Linked DNA regions of Homo sapiens: all the other regions are linked to region 2. The links are contacts of gene promoters, found by promoter capture Hi-C in human tissues and cell types (Jung and others, 2019). All regions are on one chromosome and are shown on one strand. Each heading gives the region's core, a stretch centred on a gene start or on the middle of the fragment in contact. The rest is flanking DNA. Distances are from core to core; before and after follow the strand shown.

What was found. Contacts are between HindIII fragments. The study calls those that stand out against the background at their distance.
Region 1: a fragment that was not itself captured here is called in contact with the fragment with the promoter of CDH20 in region 2 in 6 of the 25 tissues and cell types used here (heart left ventricle, neural progenitor cells, pancreas and 3 more).
Region 3: a contact is called between a fragment that was not itself captured here and the fragment with the promoter of CDH20 in region 2, in 2 of the 25 tissues and cell types used here (hippocampus and lymphoblastoid cells).

Annotation. Positions count from the first base shown.
Region 1 is chr18:61,285,396-61,288,503 of GRCh38, reverse strand. No RefSeq gene overlaps it. Among named protein-coding and RNA genes, the nearest start is that of CDH20, 46 kb to the left of the region's middle. The HindIII fragment of the contact is 4,448 bases long and covers 1-3,108 here.
Region 2 is chr18:61,331,984-61,334,861 of GRCh38, reverse strand. It overlaps CDH20 (cadherin 20), which reads right to left and starts at 1,432. Exons shown (of 12, transcript NM_031891.4): 1 at 1,035-1,432. The HindIII fragment of the contact is 19,388 bases long and covers 1-2,878 here.
Region 3 is chr18:61,377,368-61,380,420 of GRCh38, reverse strand. The region is part of intron 1 of CDH20 (cadherin 20); the gene reads right to left. Among named protein-coding and RNA genes, the nearest start is that of CDH20, 45 kb to the right of the region's middle. The HindIII fragment of the contact is 5,047 bases long and covers 1-3,053 here.

The DNA.
Region 1 (3,108 bases), core at 264-2,763, 46 kb after region 2:
GGTTCCACTACTGTACTAGTCCACATAGTTAACAGGAATACCTGTCTAGCAAGTATCCTCACTTATTCCATTCCCATTCATATAGAGAAGGGTTACATAGGTACCAAACGATATAGAGAGGCAGTGGGCTATCTCTACTAGGCAATACAGCTTCATGTACTGTCTAGCCCAATTTTGCTTGGTGGAATAAAGGCATTATAAATTGTTTATTCAGAACACACAGTCTCTCATAGAGTTTGTATTCAGTAAAACTTCCTGGTTGATTGATTGATGATTGTTTATGGGATAGTCTGAATGTCTTAGACAACTAATAGAAAATGACTTTTTTCCAACCCCTATCTAAGATGTTCTCTACCTCTTGATCAGATCTTAAGCAGATCATGTAACTATCTAATTCCTTTTCTGTAATAAAGAACAGTCTGTTTTCTGTAATTGTGAGTCCTTCAAATATTAAAAATATGCAGCCTAAATAAAAAATTATTCATCACATGTAAGTGACATCATCTCTACTCTTTGTAGTAAGAAAAGGTACATTCTATATACTTTATTCTTTCCCTTCTTTCTCTTTTTTTTTTCCTGACTTTTGTAGGGGTAGACAATTAGAGGAACAAGGGAATGAAACATTATATAACTGGTGTCTGTCTATTCTGCAGGTGGATGTGATAAGCTGCCTTGTAGGGTCCATGTTGAGTAATTTGAAAGGCCTTCCAAAGACCACCACATTGGACAGTTCCAAAACATTGGTATCACTCTCTTTGGTTAACTAACCTTCTGCAAACCCTCTTATTTTCTGCTCCTTTGCAGTACATCCTGTAGCCTCTTACTGGGAATTCTCATTGTTCCTGCTGGCACCCTCTTGGTTGAAGTACCTGCAGTGATAGCCCAAGGCCTGTTTCCCTCTGAGTACTCACTTGGCCCAAGGGAAACATATCATCCTTGCCATACCCCATAGTGGGAGTTCAGACTGACTCACTGCTGCCTTCTCTTTCTGTGTTATTATGGATTGTGGTCTCCCTTCAGAATTTTCCAGAAAAGGGGCTCATAAGTCTCTATGTTCATATATGCCTCACTCTACTGAGGATACATGTCAGGTTTGCTCAAGAACCCTGTTGCTGTATTCTGCTCTGACGACACAGTGAGGTGGGCTAACCAGGTTCTGCATTTCTGCAAGTGTACAGTTTAAGAATGAGAGGCCAGTCTCCTTTGTTCACTCTCCATTCTCCTTCAGTGTTTCTCCTGATCACCATCCGTTTAGCTTGAAGGAGTAGGTGCACCTTCCACTCCATTTATAAGGCCACCACACTTTCCCTTTAGGCTGCAAACTCCTCATTTCTGTTGGTGACTGAATTCCTATAGGGAATTCTTTTTTTTTTTTTTTTTTCAGACGGAGTCTCACTCAGTCAGTTGGAATTCTTAAGCAGGTTGGAACGAGTAACATCACAGTTACAACATCCAACTGACTGGGTCCTGCAGAAGGTTTGTGCTATTACAAGAGGCTACAGGATGTACTGCAAAGGAGCAGAAAATAATAGAAATAGAAAATTCCTATTAAATAACTATTTTAACATCTTTTACACCAAGTTCGTTCTTGTTCCACAGCAGGGAAGAAAACTGAGGAACAAAATTTTGTTGTCCCTTTAACCTGCATCTCAGATACTAACATTTATAACTGATTTAGAAAAATTGGACATTATTATATTTGAAAGAAATGGAAAAAGGTCCCAATTCCTTACAGCTTCCTTGGAAATTTCCGGTGGGAGGCCTACTTAATATTACCTTGTCTCAACTTCAATTACTGCAATCATTTTGTGTGCCTATTATGGAATAATCTGTAAGCCAATCCCTGAAGATAAGTGGATTTCAGTCACTTTCATTTTTAAAGTTGCAATTTTATAATTTCAGGGAGGGAAGTGCTGGATTCAGAGGTCTCAATCATGCCATCCTCTCCAATTTAATTTAGCAACTTGCTTTCTATAATGATGTTAATCAGAGATCTGTGTCTGAATCTAGGGACTTCTCCCACTGAAGCTTGGTTATGTGAAATTTTATCTTTATGTTTTCCATACCTGCACAGATTTTGGGTTGACATAGCTGTCACACTGCTTCTTGCAAGTTTAGGTGCAATGAGAGATTGGAAGCCATGTAAAGAATTAGCATTTGAATCCCTGAGCTTGGTTCATTCATGCCTCAGGAAATGAAGACAGACAAATTCTTCAAGTAACTTGGGTGAAAAGCATTTCGGTCTAAATGAAATATGTAGCTCATTGAAAGCCCCAAATAATAAATGCAGTTTTCCCATTCACTTTGAAGATGTTCTGTGCAAAATATCTCAGCTTATCTTTTTCATGGCCAGAGTGTCGACAGAATAGCTACAGGGTTTGCCATAGTGCTTGGTGCCAAGTGCTTAAATGTTATTTTAATAAAAAGCAAATGATCTGCTGTGGAACCATTAGACTACAAGCTTTTGGAGAGCAGACATTGTGTTCTGTTCCTTCTTATGTCTCCATTTCCTAACACACAGTGCCCTCTTGTAGTATGTACTTACTAAATATTTGCTAAACGGAATCAGTCCTCCAGACTTACTAAGTGCCAAGCTCTGTTCTGGGCATTTTTCATGTACTAACTCATGTACATATCACAAAAACATTTTAAAGAAGTTGCTATTATTATCTCCATTTTCTGGCTAAGGAAATGGATAGAGAGAGAATTAAGTAACTTTCTCAAGTTACATAGCTAGTAAGCCAGAGCTGGGATTCAAACTGGATAAAATCTAGCAGCTAAAGTCTTAAGTGCAAAACCAACAGCCATGGGCTAATAATGCAATTAATATATAATGAAAAGACCCTTTCAGAATGAACAGAAGATGGAGAGATATGACTGACTTGGAGCAGAAGAAAGATCCTAAGGAGAGAGAAGGTATAGAACAGTCAGACGTTCACATTAAAATAAGTAAACTAGGGGATTAGAGAAGAGAAAACTGAAGAAAAGGAAAAGAATGGCAAGCCCAACAGGCTTAGGAATGAGCTAGCTGATGTTTATTTGAGGAGCCAGGAGGAAATTTTACTTATGAACTATAGTGAGAGGGTAAGGTGGGGCTAGGAACCATCC
Region 2 (2,878 bases), core at 183-2,682:
CGTGCCAATAACAAGAGCATTAATAATAATAGCAACAACATAGTAAACTCTGAATCTACCAGGCGACCAACTCCCCGATTGTCTGGTACTATCCCCTCTCACTTCCAGCCTGGTCTCGGCAGAAACAAACAAAACAAAACAAGGCTCTGACGCTGCCTCCGGGCTGCCTTCCAGATTTCAGCCCCCACTGCTGCCCCAGAGGCGGATAGCTAGGCAAAGGCTGCTGCAGTCTCTCCGATTGCTAAGGACACGTTGAGAGTCCTCGGTAACGTTCTCTTTGCAAATCTGAAACTTTAGCCCCATTTGACCCCCTTGCCCCCGGCTCTTCCCCCAGAGTAACTACAACAAGCAAAAACCAAACAGCGAGCGCAATTCAGAGCTTTCCTTGGGAGTGTCAGGGCCCGAGGACAGGAAATCCGGGGAGTTGGCGAAGTCCGGCAGGTGGCGGGGACTCGAGTACCCACCACATTCTCCTCCCACAGCCGAGCTCCGGCGGGGGCGCGGCGCGAGGCACGGACCAGGGATCGGCCCCGTAGGTGCCTGCGCCTCCCCGGAGCCTGGCTCTCTGGTCCCCTTCCCGGCGCACATCTCTGTGCGAGGGACGCGGCCACCCTGTCCCCTCTGCAGGCGGAGGGAGGCGCCACCGCCTGCGGGGCCAGCGAGGGTGAAGCCGTGCCAAGCGCCCCCACAAGCCGCGCTCCTGGATCCCCAGTCACCATCCCCAGGCGCGCGCAGTCCCCGCTCCCAGCGCGCCACGTCCTCCACCTGCCCCGGTGCGCCCCAGCTTCCCTGCTTCCAGAGAGCAGCTCCCCCAGTCCCGGCAGCCCATTTCCAACCCCTTCTCCCACTAAGTCCGAGGAAGTCGAACTCGGAGCGGCCGGTAGGCTCGTCGAGGTGGCAGGGAGTTGCTGGGAGAGCACAGCGCGGAGAGGGACCGCGCACGCCGCCCGGGGATTTCGCCCCAGAGGGCTGGCTCCGCGCGCCCGGAGTCCCAAGCCCCAGAAGCGGGGCCCGACCCGAGCCCTCTGCGTTACCTGGCACCGCCGGCGACTCTCCGGAGACCTTCGGTCCTAACTGCTCCAGGGCGGGCGTTCTGCTCACGTAGCTGCCTCCCCCACTGGGCGGCTGGTGCCCCGCTGGGTCTCTTCACCCCTGCTCGCGGCGCTGTCCCCGCCCCCCACCCCCCTACCCCCTCTGTCAGAAGTGTCACAGCTTTTCTGCCTTCGGATGTTTCGCAAAGTCTCCGTGCGGTTGCCAGGAGTTGGGGGGTACTGCCAAGTGCACCAACCCCGCCGATGCCCTGCCCTGCCCTCCCGCGGCCACCGCGTTCGGCCTGTCCAGTGAGAAGAGCCCCCTGGTCGCGGTCACCGTCCCCCGAGCGTGGCGCGCGGTCCGCTTCCCCTCCCTCGCGCCTTCCCTAGCAGGAGTGGCTGCTGCCTGCCTGTACCGCGGGTCCTCATTCCCCTGCTCATGAATATTCTGACAGAGGCTAATGCCGCTGAAGTAAATTGAATTAGCCAATTGGTGCCAGGAATGTGCGCTCCTTCCTTCTGAGGAGCTGTCTGGAACCCCACCAGATGAAAGCAATTAACGTCCGGTTGGCACCCTGTGGTTTAGACCAGTGAGGGGCAAAATGGGTTAATTCTTTAAATGCAGTTTAGATACCGCATTTAAATGTTTCAACTCCTCTATTGGCTGAGAGCGTAAGGAAATGTTAAGAGGGAGAGAGAAGAAAGGGGATGTGTGGACGTGGGGAGGGGGGCGGGGGTATTTACATCTAAACTTTCCCCTGAAGTTGAGGTAATTATTTTGCACAGATTCTGGAAGAGGCAATTGAGGAGTAGAACAGGATAAGGCAAATAAAATCAGAAAGGAAATGAGTACCAACTCGGGTTTAACCTTGACCTTGAGGGTGCAAAAGACATTGTTTTCAAGAGGAGAGGTAGGGGAAGATGGCATGTGTGAGGGAAACCTCACTCATCGACTTTTAAGAATTTCTTCAAATGCTCAGATTTCCTTTTCTTTTTGTCCTCATAGGAAAATCTTAGAGTTTTAAGCCTTTAACTAGAGATGGGGTGGAGGTATATTAAGGGTCAGAAATTTCTGAGGTGGAAGCTGAGACCACCCTTCTCTCCCAGATGAAGGGGGTCCCCCAAATCACACAATACTGTGACAGGCCCATTCCAGAAGGCAATTCCAGCTCTTATTTCTGAGGTCAGAATACACAAGGTCAAAAGGAGAGATCACCTCTCTCCTGTCCTGATTCCTACCCTAGAATGTCAAGTTACTGACGACAACTTGGGTTTCACAGTGGCTGGAGGGGGACTTTTTGCCCGATGTGGTTTCTACATTTCTCTTCAAGCAAGGTGCTTGGAGGATTTCCTCCCCCATCACTGATTGTAATAGAGCAAGTTATTTTGATTGAATTGATAGGTTACTAAATAATCTATTTGTACAACTGCTCTGTGGCCAAATGATCAATGTGTGTAAAGAACTGATAAAATGATATATATAAACATCCAATAAGATTCCCAAGTGTGTGACAATAGAAATAGTATCCCAGTTAAGGCAGTCATGCCATATTTTAATAGCTTTCAGCAGGCCTAGAATTAGAACTCATAGTTATAACAATGATTATTAATAGCAGAATAGCTAATGTTTATGGAGAACTTGTTATGTGACAGACATGTGTTACACATGTTATTTCATTTCATTTTTCCAACAACTCTATTCAGTCTAGACTATTATTTCTCTATTTTAATAGATGATGCAGATGTGGCTCAATAAAGTAAGGGCAGTTGACCCTTGAACAACATGGGGGTTAGGAGCACTGACCCTCGTGTAGTCAAAAATCCGCATATAACTTTTCACTCCAAAA
Region 3 (3,053 bases), core at 550-3,049, 45 kb before region 2:
GTCCTCTGTTTTTCATATACTTCACTCTTTCCAGTGTTTCTTACTTAATTTTACTATGGTATTTATAATATATATGTGCGGTTTGAATTCACCTCCTCCCCTTTTCTTTCCACGGTCTCATGAAATGCAGGAAATTGCCATGGTTATTTCTTTGTTGCATTAACTCCTGAAAATACACTGATTTCACTTTAGTTTTTGCAAGCTCAAAGCTAACTGTGGATAAATTCAAGAAGACTTTTCATCAGGATATTGGCCTTCCTCCCCTGAAGCCCCCTTCAGGGGGTTTTATCTGCCTGCAGCCACTTTCAGTACTTCCCTAACCCACAGTCGCAGCAACTCTAAATCGACAGTCTTGTCAGAGCAAATGATCTAAAATAAACATCCGCGTGTCTGCCTGCATTAAGAATCCTGACAAGGATGCTTTGCCTGTATCAACTACAAGCTGACAGTCCTTAGAAACACTTTGCTTATTGCCTTGGTTCAGTGGCTGAGGGAGAGTAGCTATAAGGCCTGAAGTCTAATTTTGAATGGTTAAGGATGTTAAAATCCAAATGAAACCATCAAAGACCTACCTCTCTGCTTTTCCTCCTCTTGACAGGTTTCTCAATTGTAATAGTTATCTCATGTATGTGAAACTCTTGGATCAGTCAGCAAATTACATCAGGACACTCCAACAATACTATTTTGTATACAAAGACACTAGATGAGGAAATAAATGTAAATATCAAGCCCATAGTTTTGCAGGCAAGGCCCCTTTCTGATGTTTTCTTAGCTACATAATGCCCACTAAAACTTTATCTTTGGGATTCATACTGGGAACTATCTCACGATACCAAAAATTATCAGTTAATAATAGATACTCTGTCTATGTGGCCCTAAAGAATATTCCATAGACTTTCCTTTTCTCTAGTAAGCTTTATATTGTGGAGCCTAGAAAGAGAAAAGACTCTAAGTTTGTATATTCTGTATCTTAAAGCCAGAGAAGTCAATGCAATCCTGGGAAGGGACTTTTCTATTAATGTTCTAAGGTTTGGCATCCTCAATAAAGCGATTAATATTTCAACATTACAAGTTTCTCAAAGAGCCCTAAGAAAAATTTGAAGGGAGCATAATAATGCTTCACAGCTGTTGAAATTTTATGTGCCCAGCACAAATTAAGGAGAAATTGCTTGATTATTATTAGGCTTAGCTGATCTATTAAAATAGCCAGTTGAAATAAAGAGAGCCACTCTTCTGCGGTAATTATCTAAGCTGATTATCTGTGTTAACCATATCTGAGTCATTATCATTTTTATATATCATTTCAAGAGATACAGCCTAAAAGCCTGAAAATTATAAGGGGAAAAACCTAATTGTAGATTTTCTTCTTAAATTTTATTTTTATATCATATTTATCTAAGTAATCTCAGGAAGTCTTTAATACTATACGAAAACTACCGAGAGGGGAGAAAAAGGCCACCATTTAATTTATTATAATATTTTCTTAAATCACTTGCAGTATATATTCTATTCCTGGCAAACAACCCTGAGTGTCTCATATTAATTGTGCTTAGAGTGTGGTTGTTTCCTTAAAATACACCCCAAGTCACATCTAAGCTGAAGCACCAAATGCCAGTTCTTTAGAAATTAATTTTGAAAAAAGCAGAACTATTTCCCTTATTATCTACCTGAAAGTTTTGTTACATTTGATCTAAATCAGAGCTTTTACTAAGACAAAAAGAATAGTCACCAGTCGTAATGGTTAATTTTACGTCAACTTGACTGGGCTGTGGCATGCCAAACATTTGGCCAAACATTATTCTGGATGTCTTCATGAGGGTGTTTCTGGATGAGATTAAAATATGAGCCAGTAGACTGAGTAAAGAGGATGTTTCTGGATGAGATTAAAATCTGAGCCCGTAGACTGAGTACAGCAGCTTGCTCTGTCCAACGCGAGCAGGCATCATCTAATCCGTTGGATGCCTGAATAGAATAAAAAGGCTGTGTAAGGGGGAAGTTTGCTCATTCTGCCTGTCTTTGAGCTGGGACATCAGTCTTCTCCCACCTTTGGACCTGAACTTGGACTGGAACTTTCACCATTAGTCTTCTGGGTCTCTAGTTTGCTACCTGCAGATCTTGAGACTTCTCAGGCTCAGATACACGTCTACCATTGGTTCTGTTTCACTAGAGTACCATGGCAAATACATCAGCTGATGAAAGTCCACAGAATTTTGAAAATGAAGGTGTTTCATACACCTATTATATTAAAATTTAATTTAGAATGCCCATACAAGTATTTAATCTGCTCCTGGGGTAGAATGAGCCAATAGTGAGCAATCTGTTCTTCAGTATTTTAGCCATTTCTGATGTGAACAGAGCCCTGTTGACCCTTGGGAATCTACTAGGAAAACGGGGACATCAAAGGAACTCCTGGGTCCCCCACAGACTTTCTCAGCTTAAGAAAGGTATAGATTTCTCCTGCTTGGGTGGACCCTTCCTTAAAGTCCTGACATTTCAAAAATGTGAAGTAAATAAGTCATTAGTTGTCAGAATGTGAACCAGTCTAATTAGTATAAGAGTTAGTAAGTGGCCCAATATGTGCAGGTCTGTGGAGTGAACCGTAACATAGATCCAATACATAATTTCTTCCCTCAAGATGTAGGCCCACAATGTAAAAAACAGATATATCGTAATATTAAGAAACCCATGATAGAATGTGCAAATGAGCTGCTGAGGTAGGAATCCCTAATCTTGATTTGGTGACAGCCAAATAAACTCCATTTACTAAAAAAAGGGATGTGTGCGCTGGTTGTAAAATATTTAAAAATATTAATTTTAGTTCATTTTAATTTAAGAAATAAAATATATTTCTGAAGTGGTCACCAAAGACTTAACAATGCGGCCAAGTAAAAACTCAAAGTGGATTGGGCTCTCGGTGGACAATCTGAAGGAAGGCTAAGAGGCTGGCCACTTATGAGGCTTCGCGTGTCTGATGAAACCTGAACAAGATACAAGTAATGGAAACTTATGTGGCCAGGTCTAATGTTTCAGTTCTACTGAGGCTGCCTCCTGGT